Linked DNA regions of Homo sapiens: regions 1, 2 and 3 are each linked to region 4. The links are contacts of gene promoters, found by promoter capture Hi-C in blood cells and fetal thymus (Javierre and others, 2016). All regions are on one chromosome and are shown on one strand. Each heading gives the region's core, a stretch centred on a gene start or on the middle of the fragment in contact. The rest is flanking DNA. Distances are from core to core; before and after follow the strand shown. Region 1 has its middle 42 kb from the start of LINC02418. Region 2 has its middle 46 kb from the start of TMEM132D. Region 3 has its middle 26 kb from the start of TMEM132D. Region 4 holds the start of SLC15A4 (solute carrier family 15 member 4).

Region 1 (3,015 bases), core at 396-2,895, 1.2 Mb before region 4:
TCTTTCTTTTTCTTCAACCTTTATCTTGAGTTCAGGGCTACATGTGGAGGATGTGCAGGTTTATTACATAGGTAAACATGAGCCGTGGTGGTTTGCTGCCCAGATCATCCCATCACCAAGGTATGAAGCCCAACATCCATTAGCTTTTCTTCCTGATGCTCTCTCTCCCCCCACCACCCACCTCTGATGGGTCCCAGTGTGTGCTGTTCCCCCCAGTGTGTCCGTGTGTCCTCATCATTCAGCTCCTACTTATAAGTGAGAACATGTGGCGTTTGGTTTTCTGTGCCTGCATTAGTTTGCTGAGGATAATGGCTTCTAACTCCATCCGTGTTCCTGCAAAGGACATGATGTCATTCCATTTCATGGCTGCATGGTATTCCACGGTGTATATGTACCAGATTGTCTTTATCCAGTCTATCATTGATGAATCCCCAGTTTTTATGGATGGCAAATGCCAGCACTCTCTTCTGGTCTCTCACCTATTCCAGAGAACCAGTGTTGTCCCGGTTTGGAAAGGCAGCTTGTGGGAGGTGGGCTTCATGTCTCCCACATGCATCACGTAAGCAGAACGCAGATGATTCCTCCTTATTATTAACAGGGTGAGGATGGAAAGGAATGAGAGCAAGTGACCCACATGCCCCCACCACCCATGCATCACTCTTCGTGCTCAGGTCTTCTCGTCCTTTAGTTCTTAGGTTATATTTTCCAGAGAGGGCTCCTTGGAACCCAGGAACCAGACAATTCCTCTTACTCAATAGCTCCAAGTTAACCCCTCGCATCCCCTTCCTGACTCTCATCCTTCCTTTTGTTTTTATTTTCAGTTATTTATTTATTTCCTGTAGTTTAATTTCACTAAAGATAATGTCAAAGAGAACAGGCTAATTTCTCTAGGAAAAGGAAGAACGTCTCAGGTCACTATAAAAAAAAATCACAATTTTCTTCTGATTCAGCACCACTGCTATTATCAACTTTATGCCAGTTATCTATCAATTCAAGTAAAGTTTTATGAACCTTAAAATACGTAAGCACTCCTTGTGTTTTATAGAACAAAGCGTTATTGACATTTCAATATTTTATATGTAGAGGATAAATGCATATTGATAATTGTGGAGCTGTTCGAAATGATAGGGGGATGCAGATTGATTTTGGGTCCTATAAAAGACTATGGGCAAGGAGGTGGAGGGCGGTTTCCTAGGTAGGATGCTTGCACCAAGATGCTGCACAGAGTTTTGGTGAATTGAGCAAAATGTAAAAACAAGATGAGGTCCAGAGAATGATTAGCAGAGAAAGCAGATGCAGAAATCTCAATGAGGCTCTGCTAGGCAGAGATACAGAGTCCTAAGACCCACCTCTATCTTTTGGGAACCTGGTGACAAAGAAGTGGCTCTTTAATATCCCTGAGAGTGAGTCCTCTCTTTGTGTTTTTCTACCTATAGATCCAAAAGAGCACCCCAGAATTAAAGAACATAAAAAATGGAAGAAGGTTTAGAACTCACCTGGTTTAATTGTTCTCAACCCAAGTCATGCTGAGAAGGGCTGGGCAGGGGTGTTGGCATCAGAAATGCAAAAACTTCATTCCTGATTATTTTAAGTCCGAACTTTTAGGGCAGCATCCAGGAATCCGAATTTCAAAAAAACTCTCTGGGTCATTTTGATGCATATTCCCAAATAGGAATCTTTGATGAAGCCATTCTCTCCCTCCACTTTACAAGTAAAGAAGCAGAGGCCTTCTACAAGTCCTTTGACTTACATTTCTCTGAGTTTCATTGTGGAGACAGCAACTCACATCTCTATTCCTCGCCCTGACCTGGGTGAGGTCATATGACTAATTCTGTCCAATGAGATGTGGGCAGAAGTGACGTAATCCATTCTAGGCCTGGCCCTTAATTTTCCCAAGTTCCCAAAGGAGACTTCCTTGTTGATTTGATTATCAGAATAAGGCCAGGCACGGTGGCTCACACCTGTAATCCCAGCACTTTGGGAGGCCGAGGCGGGCGGATCACGAGATCAGGAGATTGAGACCATCCTGGCTAACATAGTGAAACCCCGCCTCTACTAAAAATACAAAAAATTATCCGGGCGTGGTGAAGGGCGCCTGTAGTCCCAGCTACTGGGGAGGCTGAGGCAGGAGAATGGCGTGAGCCCGGGAGGCGGAGCTTGCAGTGAGCCGAGATTGCGCCACTGCACTCCAGCCTGGGCGACAGAGCCAGACTCCGTCTCAAAAAAAAAAAAAAAAAAAAAAAAAAATTTATTAGACTAGAAAAGCAATTAAAAAATGAATAACCAGGCCGGGCGCAGTTGCTCGTGACTGTAATCCCAGCACTTTAGGAAGCCGAGGTGGGTGGATAACCTGAGGTCAGGAGTTCAAGACCAGCCTGGCTAACCTGGTGAAACCCCTTCTCTATGAAAAATACAAAAATTAGCTGGACGTGGTGGTGGGCGCCTGTAATCCCAGCTACTCGGGAGGCTGAGGCAGGAGAATCGCTTGAACCTGGGAGGCAGAGGTTGCAGTGAGACAAAATTGCGCCATTGCACTCCACCCTGGGTGACAGAGTGAGTCTCCCATCTCAAAAAAAAAAAAGAAAAGAAAAAAAAAGTGAATAACCTCAGTATGGATTCAATGTTATATCTGTTATAAAAAATATTTAAAACTTAATAGGCAAAAATTAACTCTTAGGTGTTCCTCTGTGGTTGGCTTTCTATTGACTGAACTATTTTAAAACTGTAGAAGTTCACTTAGAGAATACAGCAGTGCATGTGATTCTTATCTGAGAGCAACACAAATGTTTCCTCTCTGCAGTAATGCAAATCGATGTTGCTCATTGTAGATGCAATTGATTTCCATGCTTTAAAACATTTTACAAGTTTTTCCAATTATTTCTATCATTGCTACTGAAAACTTGGGAGCAATGTGTTCCACAGGGAACAGCTTGGATCCTTGAGTCACAACTGGAGAACCTCTGCCCTTGTGAACTGGTGGCTTGCATTTGACACTGATGTGAGCACAAAATAAAC
Region 2 (2,977 bases), core at 410-2,909, 1.1 Mb before region 4:
AGAGGATTCAGGGACAAACCAGCCCAGTTGATCATCCTAAATCTAAGGTTACTATTGAGTTTTTTGAAATATTCATGTGTTGACGAATAAAATCTTTTCACTTTCAAATGATAGACAATGAACTCTAGTTTGCTTAATAAATAATCATCCACTTGTTCACTTAATGGGAAGTGTAGACTTCAGAAAGTCCTGGCTTTAGGGAGGGTAGGAATTGGAGGCTCATAAGATGTGGTTAGAAACCTGTGCTACTGTCTATTCCTCAGTACTGCTTTCCTCATGCGGGCTTCATTTTAAGACAGGCTGTCTCTCAGGAGAACAAATTGTGATTGCCACTTCTGGTTGTCTTTCTGCTGGCTCATTCAAATCAGCATTGGGAAGGTAAGCTTGTCTCTCCCATCATATCTTCAGCTCAAGGGCCAGGGCAGACCCTCACAGACTTCACTTTGGTCCTAGGCTAATGCCTGACTCAGCTAATATTTTGTATTTTTTTTTTAAGAGTCGGGGTCTCACTATGTTGCCGAGACTAGTCTTGAACTCCTGCACTCAAATGATCCTCCCTGCTTTGGCCTCCCAAAGTGCTGGGATTACAGGTATGAGCCACTGTGCCTGGCCCCTTTTCTATCATTTTTAACAAGTGTCAGAATAATTTATTTTCTTTGACGTTGGCCATCCATAGTTGACTAATATCAAGAGTTATTTTGCTTATGGAGGAATATTTTGATCACTGGGCTGGTGCTCAAATTTCCATTGGAAATTTCTAATGGAGACAAGTCTCCATTGCATAAGAGACTTGACTCCAACTGGCATAAGAAGAAAAGGAGATTTTTGTGGTTCATACAGTTGGAAACTCCATGGATCATCTTCATATTATGTATGGTTCAATCTACGAGCACGGAAAAAATAGCATCAGAGTCTGATTTCCCCCAAATGCTCCTCATTGTCACAAGATGGCTGCTGCAGGGGAGAACTCTACATGTTCTCCCCTTCAGGACAAAGAAAGAACCTGCCTCACTCCTAAAAGCTCAGCACAAGTCTCACTGCACCTGTTTAGCTCTCATTGGGCCATGCAACATGACTAAACCCACCATGGCTAAGGCAATGGGATGCTTTGATGGGCTGACACAATAACCACCTCTAATGCAAGGGATGAAGAAACCCATTCATGTGACCTGATGATGGTTGGTGTGAACCTGCCAGAAAGAGACTGACACACTATTTTGCCAGAAATACAGGCAATGAATATTGAACAGAAAAAAATACAGTGGTCCACTTAGCAATGCTCCCTCACTCATAGTTCATATTAATATTTCTTGCATTGAATGCAGGATAAATTAACAAATATCTCCAGAATAGTTGGGGCTTAGATAAACATTCACACAACAGACACAAAGCTCTAAATGGCCCCATTGAGGGCCAGAAGGACAATGACGTCTGGCACAAAACATCCCTTCATTTATGGAAGCAAAAACTGGCCACTGGAGTCATGCCTTAAAACAGAGCTCCAGACAGAATCCAAAAATTGCGTTTTAGTTGCAATAGTATGGCAGTAACTGTCTGTTGGTGGTGTTTGCTGTCACGTCTCACATTGTCATTTGCATGGGCTGCTGTCCATATTCTCAATAAACAGGCCCTGCCTGTAGCCTGGCTTACACGTTATTTTTCTAAGTTGGTAAATAATGAAATGAGATGTGGGGTGTCACGCGTGCTGTTGGCACATACTGGTACAAACATGTGCCGCTCGGTTCCGTTGACGCTGCTCCCATCTGGCCTAAATATAGAGACATCGATTTTCCTCCAGATGGTGCTGCGGCTTTCAGTGGATTGCTCTTTTTTCTACTAATAAGCACGGAGCTCGTCCCGCCTAATGACGGAACCCTGGGATGCGAACATCTGGGGGAAGCTCAAGGTGTCTTGTCAGTTGACTTGCAAGCTCCACGTGGAAGAGTTCAATGAATCTTTGGTGGTAACAGGAGCTCCAGCTGCTGAATTAATTATCAGGCACCAGGGGAGTGAGACGGTGACCTGGGGAGAAGCCCTTTGGCCCTGGGTCCCCCTTTCTCATCCATAGAAGGGAAGCGGTGAGCCTCAGGAAGTGAGAAGGCACTACTGCCTGTCTGGGCCCAGTGATTCAACTGCTCTGCTCTTGGGAGCCCTGGGACCTTTCCCAGGATGGAAAAATGCAACCATTGCTTTCCAGGAAGAAAGGACTGTAGGGAGGAACTGGAACCTGGCTGTTTGCCAAGGAAGCCAAGCAAAGCCACCCAAAGCAAGGTGAGACTCCAGTGAAGAGGAGCTGTGGGTTCTCCAACCCATTCTCACTTGGCCAATTTTTTATTTTTGTGTTTTGGAGATAAAGTCTGGCTCTGTCACTCCACAGGCTGGAGCTCAGTGGTGCAATCAAGGCTCCGTGCAGCCTCAACCTCCCAAGCTCAAGTGATTCTCCCACCTGAGCCTCCCAAGTAGCTGGGACTACAGGCGTAAACCACCACACACAGCTAATTTTTGTATTTTTGTAGAGATGGGGTTTCGCCCTGTTGCCCAGGCTGGCCTTGAACTCCTGGGCGCATGCAATCCACCCACCTCGGCCTCCCAAAGTGCTGGGATTACAAGTATGAGCCACCATGCCCTGCCATCACATGGCCAATTTCAGCAAACGACTTCTAAGTCCACCTGCCTCACTTATTTCTACTTTCCAATAGAAAGGGAACTGGATAATAAAAAAGAATTGAAGAGAAACATTCCTAAGCTGTATGTTATTTGGTTTATGGGATGATCACGGTCTCATGCACCTGGTTAGATACAACCAGATGACGCCCTGCAAGAGACAGGATGACATTGCAGCTCAGAGCACAGATTCAAGAGCTAGAAAGCCTGCCTGGGATTCCTGTCCTGACACTTTCTACTTAGGTGACCCTGGGAAGTTACTTAAGCTTTCTGCCTTCAGTCTCCTTATCTTTAAATGGGAAAAATAGCATTA
Region 3 (3,066 bases), core at 221-2,720, 1.1 Mb before region 4:
CTTTGCAAGAACCTTCAGAGAAGACAGCCCTGGACACAAAGATGGGAGCACACGGGGCTGAGGCTTCTGTGGTCACCGCACGTTGGGAAAGAGAGAGCCTGTTTGCGCGTGGAGTCTGCACAGAAGAACAGCTAAGACAGGGAGAGAGACAGCAGCTGTTTATGACATTGTTTGAGCTCAGGTGAAGCCGGCCCTACAGACAGAGCTGAGCCTTCTCAGTTCCGTGGTTTAACAAATTATCGTTTTCCTTACGCAGTTTGTGTTGGATGATGAAAGTTTCATTTGTGAGTGAAACATTAAATGGCGAAAGTTAACATTTGATGTTTGGCTTAAATAATTTTCTTGATGCGAAGAGGAAGGATGACCCACTTATTTTTTAAAAAATTTAAAAAATTGCCTTTACGTCAATCATTATGAAAGAGCTCTTCCCCCCTGCCATTTGCAGTCCTGCCCCTTCACAGAGAGAATTAACGATGGAAATTAGGTTGAGGGGTTTATTTGTTTGTTTGTTTAGAGATACACCAAATTCAGCCATTAGGCAGCAATACACAGAACTGAGTTTCTCACCTTCATTAACAAGTGACAAAAAGCTTTGATGTTTTAAGATATGAGGGAGAATATGGTGGCTTCAGAAGAAAAACATTATCTTCTTTCTCCTGTGATATGTTCCTGTATTTCTCTCTTGTATTTATTCTTACAATAATAATTGAATAATTAATAGCATCACAAGTCTGGCTAATTATGACTACTTATCTAGCTTGCTAGAATATTAACTGCTTTGAGGCATGATTTGTGTCATCTCATGGGCTACTCTTTCCTTTCTACATTGTAGGAAGTCAGGAACAATTTGGTGCAAGAATGAGGAAACCAAGCTCAGAGCTTCTTTTTTTTTTTATTATACTTTAAGTTTTAGGGTACATGTGCACAACATGCAGGTTTGTTACATATGTATACATGTGCCGTGCTGGTGTGCTGCACCCATTAACTCGTCATTTAACATTAGGTATATCTCCTAATGCTACCCTCCCCACTCCCCCCACCCCACAACAAGCCCCGGTGTGTGATGTTCCCTTTCCTGTGTCCATGTGTTCTCATTGTTCAGTTCCCACCTATGAGTGAGAACATGCGGTGTTTGGTTTTTTGTCCTTGCGATAGTTTGCTGAGAATGATGGTTTCCAGCTTCATCCATGTCCCTACAAAGGACATGAACTCATCATTTTTATGGCTGCATAGTATTCCATGGTGTATATGTGCCAAATTTTCTGCTATAAAGACACATGCACACGTATGTTTATTGCGGCACTATTCACAATAGCAAAGACTTGGAACCAACCCAAATGTCCAACAATGATAGACTGGATCAAGCTCAGAGCTTCTAAGTAACGTGTCCAAGATCACAAACCTGGTATTTAAGCTGTAACGAAAGCTCCCTGTTCATAACCTCTAAGGGGCAAGGATTCAAGGGAAAGAAGAAGACCTGGCATCCTGAGTCATCCTGTCAGAGGCTGATCCAAAGCCAGCATGGAGATGATGGCAGAGAGGAGGTACATTGAACCAGCTCTCAAAAAACTGATGGGTTGTCTCACAGGTGAAAATTTAAGAGGCTCCACAGGTGTGAGCTTCAGCAGATGAAGTTTTCCGTCTGCGTGCGGAAGAGCAGCGACCTGAAGGAGATCCCCGTGACCTAGGAGATGGAAGACAACCTTGAGCACCATGAAGTGGCCCGGGGTCAGGGTGGGCAAGAGCGCAACACCCAGGCTACCGGGCTGCTCTGGAAGGGGTTTGTTCAGAGATAAAAAGAAGTTCATTGAGCACCTGAATCCAGCCATGCCTGAAGCTCGTATTTCCTATCAACCGTATGGTGATATGAACCAAACTGCTTTTTTTCCTTTGGTCACTTTGAGTAGAGTGACACAATTCAGGGGAAACACAGGTTTTGTGAGGGCAGGAACTAGAGAGGTCTGCTGTCAGGCATTTGGAGGCACTGGGGAATGAGTGCATTGGGAAGAGGAAGGTGGATCAGCACCTTAGTCTGAGTCTGACCTGGAAAACTGAGTCCACGCCAGGTGCCTTCAGGGGTGACTTAACTGGGCCACTAATGAGAATTACTGGAAGAGCCGAAATGCCAGAGGTCGTGAGGAAACCAGGGAGCCTGTGCCATGCAAGGGCTGGAGGGACAACAACAGGGAAACAGGGAGAGGACACTGTGAGGTCAGAGAGTGACACTCCTTAACAAGAACTGCCGCCCATGAGGCGTCCCTCCTCCTGCCTTCCAGTCCCCTGCCCAAACCCTCACTGGCCAACCTAGTCAGAGACCAGGAGGCCAGGCATCCTGGAGAAAGCAAGCTTCAAGGGTCGGGATCACTGAGGCAGAGCAGAGCATGGAGGGGAGGGGCAGGGGAGCTGTCTGAGGCAACCGCAGTGGTAGTGCGGGATGGAGGGAGGCAGGAAGAAGAGAATTCATTCACCGTGTGGGGGCCTGGGAAGCCCTGAGTTCAATTCCCTGCTTGAAACTCAGAGGCCTGCATGGAATGGACACGATGAAAGAAAAATTACTTTTGAAAACCTCATTAGCACCCAGATGTTTTGTTATTAGATAATAATTTAATATAAAAAGGAAATGTAATGATTATAGTCATACACTATTATAATATAAACTGTGCCCCCATGAGATCTGAATTTCTTTCTTTTCTTACTTCTCTGAAGGCCCCCAAGCTTTTGGGATGCAAACGCTGCTTCCTCACACATTAGCCAAAGCAATTAAATTATTTATTAATGGCGCTTATTTAATTTGATATCTTGGGAGCTTTCTGTGCATGTCTGATGTCATTTGGGAAACAGACCTTTGTTTTTCATTTTTGTTTTAGAAAACATATTTGAGAGTGAATTATTCATGGGATTGTTTAATTTGGGGTGGGGGGAGTTTAATTATTTTGAGGCTGTGTGTCATTTTCACTTCCTTTGAAGACTGCCAGGAGTTAATTAGCCATCCCTAAATGAAATAGAACACTTTTCTCATTGCTTTTTGGATCAATATTTATTTTTTTCTGGATTACTTTTCATTTG
Region 4 (3,049 bases), core at 289-2,788:
GCCGGAATGCAGTGGCACAATCTCGGCTCACTGCAACCTCTGCCTCCCTGGTTCAAGCGATTCTCCTGCCTCAGCCTCCTGAGTAGCTGGGACTACAGGCGCCTGCCACCACGCCCAGCTAATTTTTGTATTTTTAGTAGAGACGGGGTTTCACCATGTTGGCCAGGATGGTATCGATCTCTTGACCTCGTGATCCGTCCGCCTCGGCCTCCCAAAGTGCTGGGATTGTAGACGTGAGCCACCATCCCAGGCCGGGGTCTCAATTTCTGAAGCCATGCTGAGGGCCATTTTTGGGCGGCACTCTTTCACTCCACTATGTGCCAGGCGCTGTCCCAGAGGCAGGGGGCACAGTGAGGAACAAAACACAAGAGAATCCTGCCATCAGGAAGCTTACACCTGTTAACACATGCAGGTTGGGGAGATAAACGAATAAATTAAAAAATGTAACAGGTAATAAGGAGAAAAGAGTAACATGATGGAATGGGATACTCGGGCCTTGGACAGGCTAGTGAAAAAAATGTTTCTCTGAAGTCAACACTTCGGTGGAAGGTTGAAGGATGAGAAGCCAGCCATGCAACCATAGATGGTGTAGGGGCAGTCTCTGGGAAAGCCTGAAACAGGCTGGAGCTTGCCTTGTTCTAAGCCAGTGAGTCTCAATGGGGGCGTATTTGCCCCCAGGAGTCCTTCGGCAAAGTCTAGAAGACATTTTCGGTTGTTAACCTGAGGTGCTAGGGGGTGGAACTGGCCCCTAGTGGATAGCAGAGGCCAAAGCTGCTGCTGAACATCGTGCAACGCACAGGACAGTCCCGTCGCTCAAAGTGCCAACGATGCACGGGTTGAGAAACCGGGTCCTCTCCAGGACTGAAGCCCAGGGCAGGGAGCACGGGGGCAGCCTGAGCAAACCCGCCTGGAGAGCAGCCGCCGTCTCAGTGTGAGTTTTGGCTGCCTACTGGGCCCCACCGAAGCCCGAAGAGGGCCAGGCTCCGGCTTCTTTGTTTAAACTCCCTTAGTCCGACTGCCTGCAGTGGCTCATGCACGTAATTCCAACACTATGGGAGGCTGAGACGTGAGGAACGCTTGATGCCAGGAGTTCGAGACCAACCTGAGCAACAAAGCGAGACCCCATTTCAAAAAACTGTTTAAAAATTAGCCACAGGCAGCGGCGAGCGCCTGCGGTCCCAGCTACCCGGGAGGCTGAGGTGGGAGGGCCGCTTGATCCTGGGAAGCTGAGGCTGCAGTGAGGCGTAACCGCATGACTGCGCTCCAGCCTGGGCGAGAGAGGGAAACCCTGTCTCAAAAAGGCAAACAAAGGCTCTCGGCCGCCAAGCTGCGGAATCCCAAGCTCCCCAAGACACGCAGTGATCCAGAATACCGGCCACCTCCTCGCCTAGTGCCCGGGGCGGGGCCGGAAGTTCCGGCGAGTGGGGCGTTGAGCAGCGGCGAGCCCGCCCAATAGGGACATCTCAGGCCCGGCAGTCTCGCGAGAAGGGCGGCGGCCCTGGGTTCTGGGACAGGTGACCCGGCGGCGGGGCGAGGCAGCTGGCGGCGTCGCATGGAGGGCTCTGGGGGCGGTGCGGGCGAGCGGGCGCCGCTGCTGGGCGCGCGGCGGGCGGCGGCGGCCGCGGCGGCGGCTGGGGCGTTCGCGGGCCGGCGCGCGGCGTGCGGGGCCGTGCTGCTGACGGAGCTGCTGGAGCGCGCCGCTTTCTACGGCATCACGTCCAACCTGGTGCTATTCCTGAACGGGGCGCCGTTCTGCTGGGAGGGCGCGCAGGCCAGCGAGGCGCTGCTGCTCTTCATGGGCCTCACCTACCTGGGCTCGCCGTTCGGAGGCTGGCTGGCCGACGCGCGGCTGGGCCGGGCGCGCGCCATCCTGCTGAGCCTGGCGCTCTACCTGCTGGGCATGCTGGCCTTCCCGCTGCTGGCCGCGCCCGCCACGCGAGCCGCGCTCTGCGGTTCCGCGCGCCTGCTCAACTGCACGGCGCCTGGTCCCGACGCCGCCGCCCGCTGCTGCTCACCGGCCACCTTCGCGGGGCTGGTGCTGGTGGGCCTGGGCGTGGCCACCGTCAAGGCCAACATCACGCCCTTCGGCGCCGACCAGGTGAGCCGCGCCCCCGCGCGCTGTCCCTGTCCCTGTCCAGCCCCTGCCCAGCCCCAGCCTCTTCCCCTGCCCCAGTCCCTGCCTCTGACCGCGGAGGGAGCCCCTTGCCCCGGGGGGCTTCTGTCTAGTGCCGAGGAATCCCGCCAGCAGGTGGGCCAAGACTGGAGGTACCGGTGTGATGGGTGCTGGAAGGGGTTTGCCTGGGGCGGGGTGAGGTCTACACACACAGTGATGGCCACAGTGGCTTTAAAGAAAAGAGAGGCCGGGCGCGGTGGCTCACGCCTGTAATTCCAGCACTTTGGGAGGCCGAGGCGGGAGGATCTCTTGAGCCCAGGACTTTGAGACCAGGTTGGGCAACACAGTGAGACCTCATCTCTACCAAAATTTAAAAATTTGCCCTCCGTGGAGGCGCACACCTGTAGTCCTAGCAGAGAAAGGAGGATTCCTTGAGCCTACGAGTTTCGGAGGCTGCAGTGAGCTAGGGTCACACCAGTGCACTCTAGCTTGGGTAACAGAGTGAGACCCCACCTCAAAAAAATAAATAAATAAAATTTAAAAAATACGCTGAGCGCAGTGGCTCACGCCTGTAATCCCAACACTTTGGGAGGCCGAGGTGGGTGGATCACCTAAGGTCAGGAGTTCGAGACCAGCCTGACCAGCCTGGCTAAAAATACAAAAATTAGCCGAGCGTGGTGGCGGGCACCTGTTCTCTCAGCTAGTCGGGAGGCTGAGGCAGGAGAATCGCTTGCACCCGGGAGGCAGAGGTGCGATGAGCCGAGATCGCGCCACTCCACTCCTCCAGCCTGAGCGACAGAGCGAGACTCTGTCTCCAAATAAAAATAAATAAATAAATAAAAAATAAATGAACGGGACCCTTCTATGTTCAGGCCCTGTAAGTTCAGACCAGAAGGCTAGGAAAGAGCAGTTGTTTGAGGAGCTTTCCAGACATGG

What was found. The method cuts DNA at HindIII sites, captures the fragments that hold promoters and counts their contacts. A CHiCAGO score of 5 or more calls a contact.
Region 1: a contact is called between a fragment that was not itself captured here and the fragment with the promoter of SLC15A4 in region 4, in 1 of 17 cell types (M2 macrophages). The highest score is 5.3, in M2 macrophages.
Region 2: a fragment that was not itself captured here is called in contact with the fragment with the promoter of SLC15A4 in region 4 in 1 of 17 cell types (M2 macrophages); the score reaches 7.6 in M2 macrophages.
Region 3: a fragment that was not itself captured here is called in contact with the fragment with the promoter of SLC15A4 in region 4 in 1 of 17 cell types (M2 macrophages); the score reaches 8.9 in M2 macrophages.

Annotation. Positions count from the first base shown.
Region 1 is chr12:129,998,379-130,001,393 of GRCh38, reverse strand. No RefSeq gene overlaps it. Among named protein-coding and RNA genes, the nearest start is that of LINC02418, 42 kb to the left of the region's middle. The HindIII fragment of the contact is 6,986 bases long and covers 1-3,015 here.
Region 2 is chr12:129,948,637-129,951,613 of GRCh38, reverse strand. No RefSeq gene overlaps it. Among named protein-coding and RNA genes, the nearest start is that of TMEM132D, 46 kb to the right of the region's middle. RefSeq lists an enhancer at 1,785-1,954. The HindIII fragment of the contact is 2,547 bases long and covers 386-2,932 here.
Region 3 is chr12:129,928,938-129,932,003 of GRCh38, reverse strand. No RefSeq gene overlaps it. Among named protein-coding and RNA genes, the nearest start is that of TMEM132D, 26 kb to the right of the region's middle. The HindIII fragment of the contact is 1,756 bases long and covers 593-2,348 here.
Region 4 is chr12:128,822,447-128,825,495 of GRCh38, reverse strand. SLC15A4 (solute carrier family 15 member 4) reads left to right here and starts at 1,538. Exons shown (of 8, transcript NM_145648.4): 1 at 1,538-2,098. The coding sequence starts at 1,553. It overlaps LOC124903083 (a long non-coding RNA gene), which reads right to left and starts at 1,552. Exons shown (of 2, transcript XR_007063602.1): 1 at 1-1,552. RefSeq lists an enhancer at 1,628-1,787. The HindIII fragment of the contact is 5,029 bases long and covers 392-3,049 here.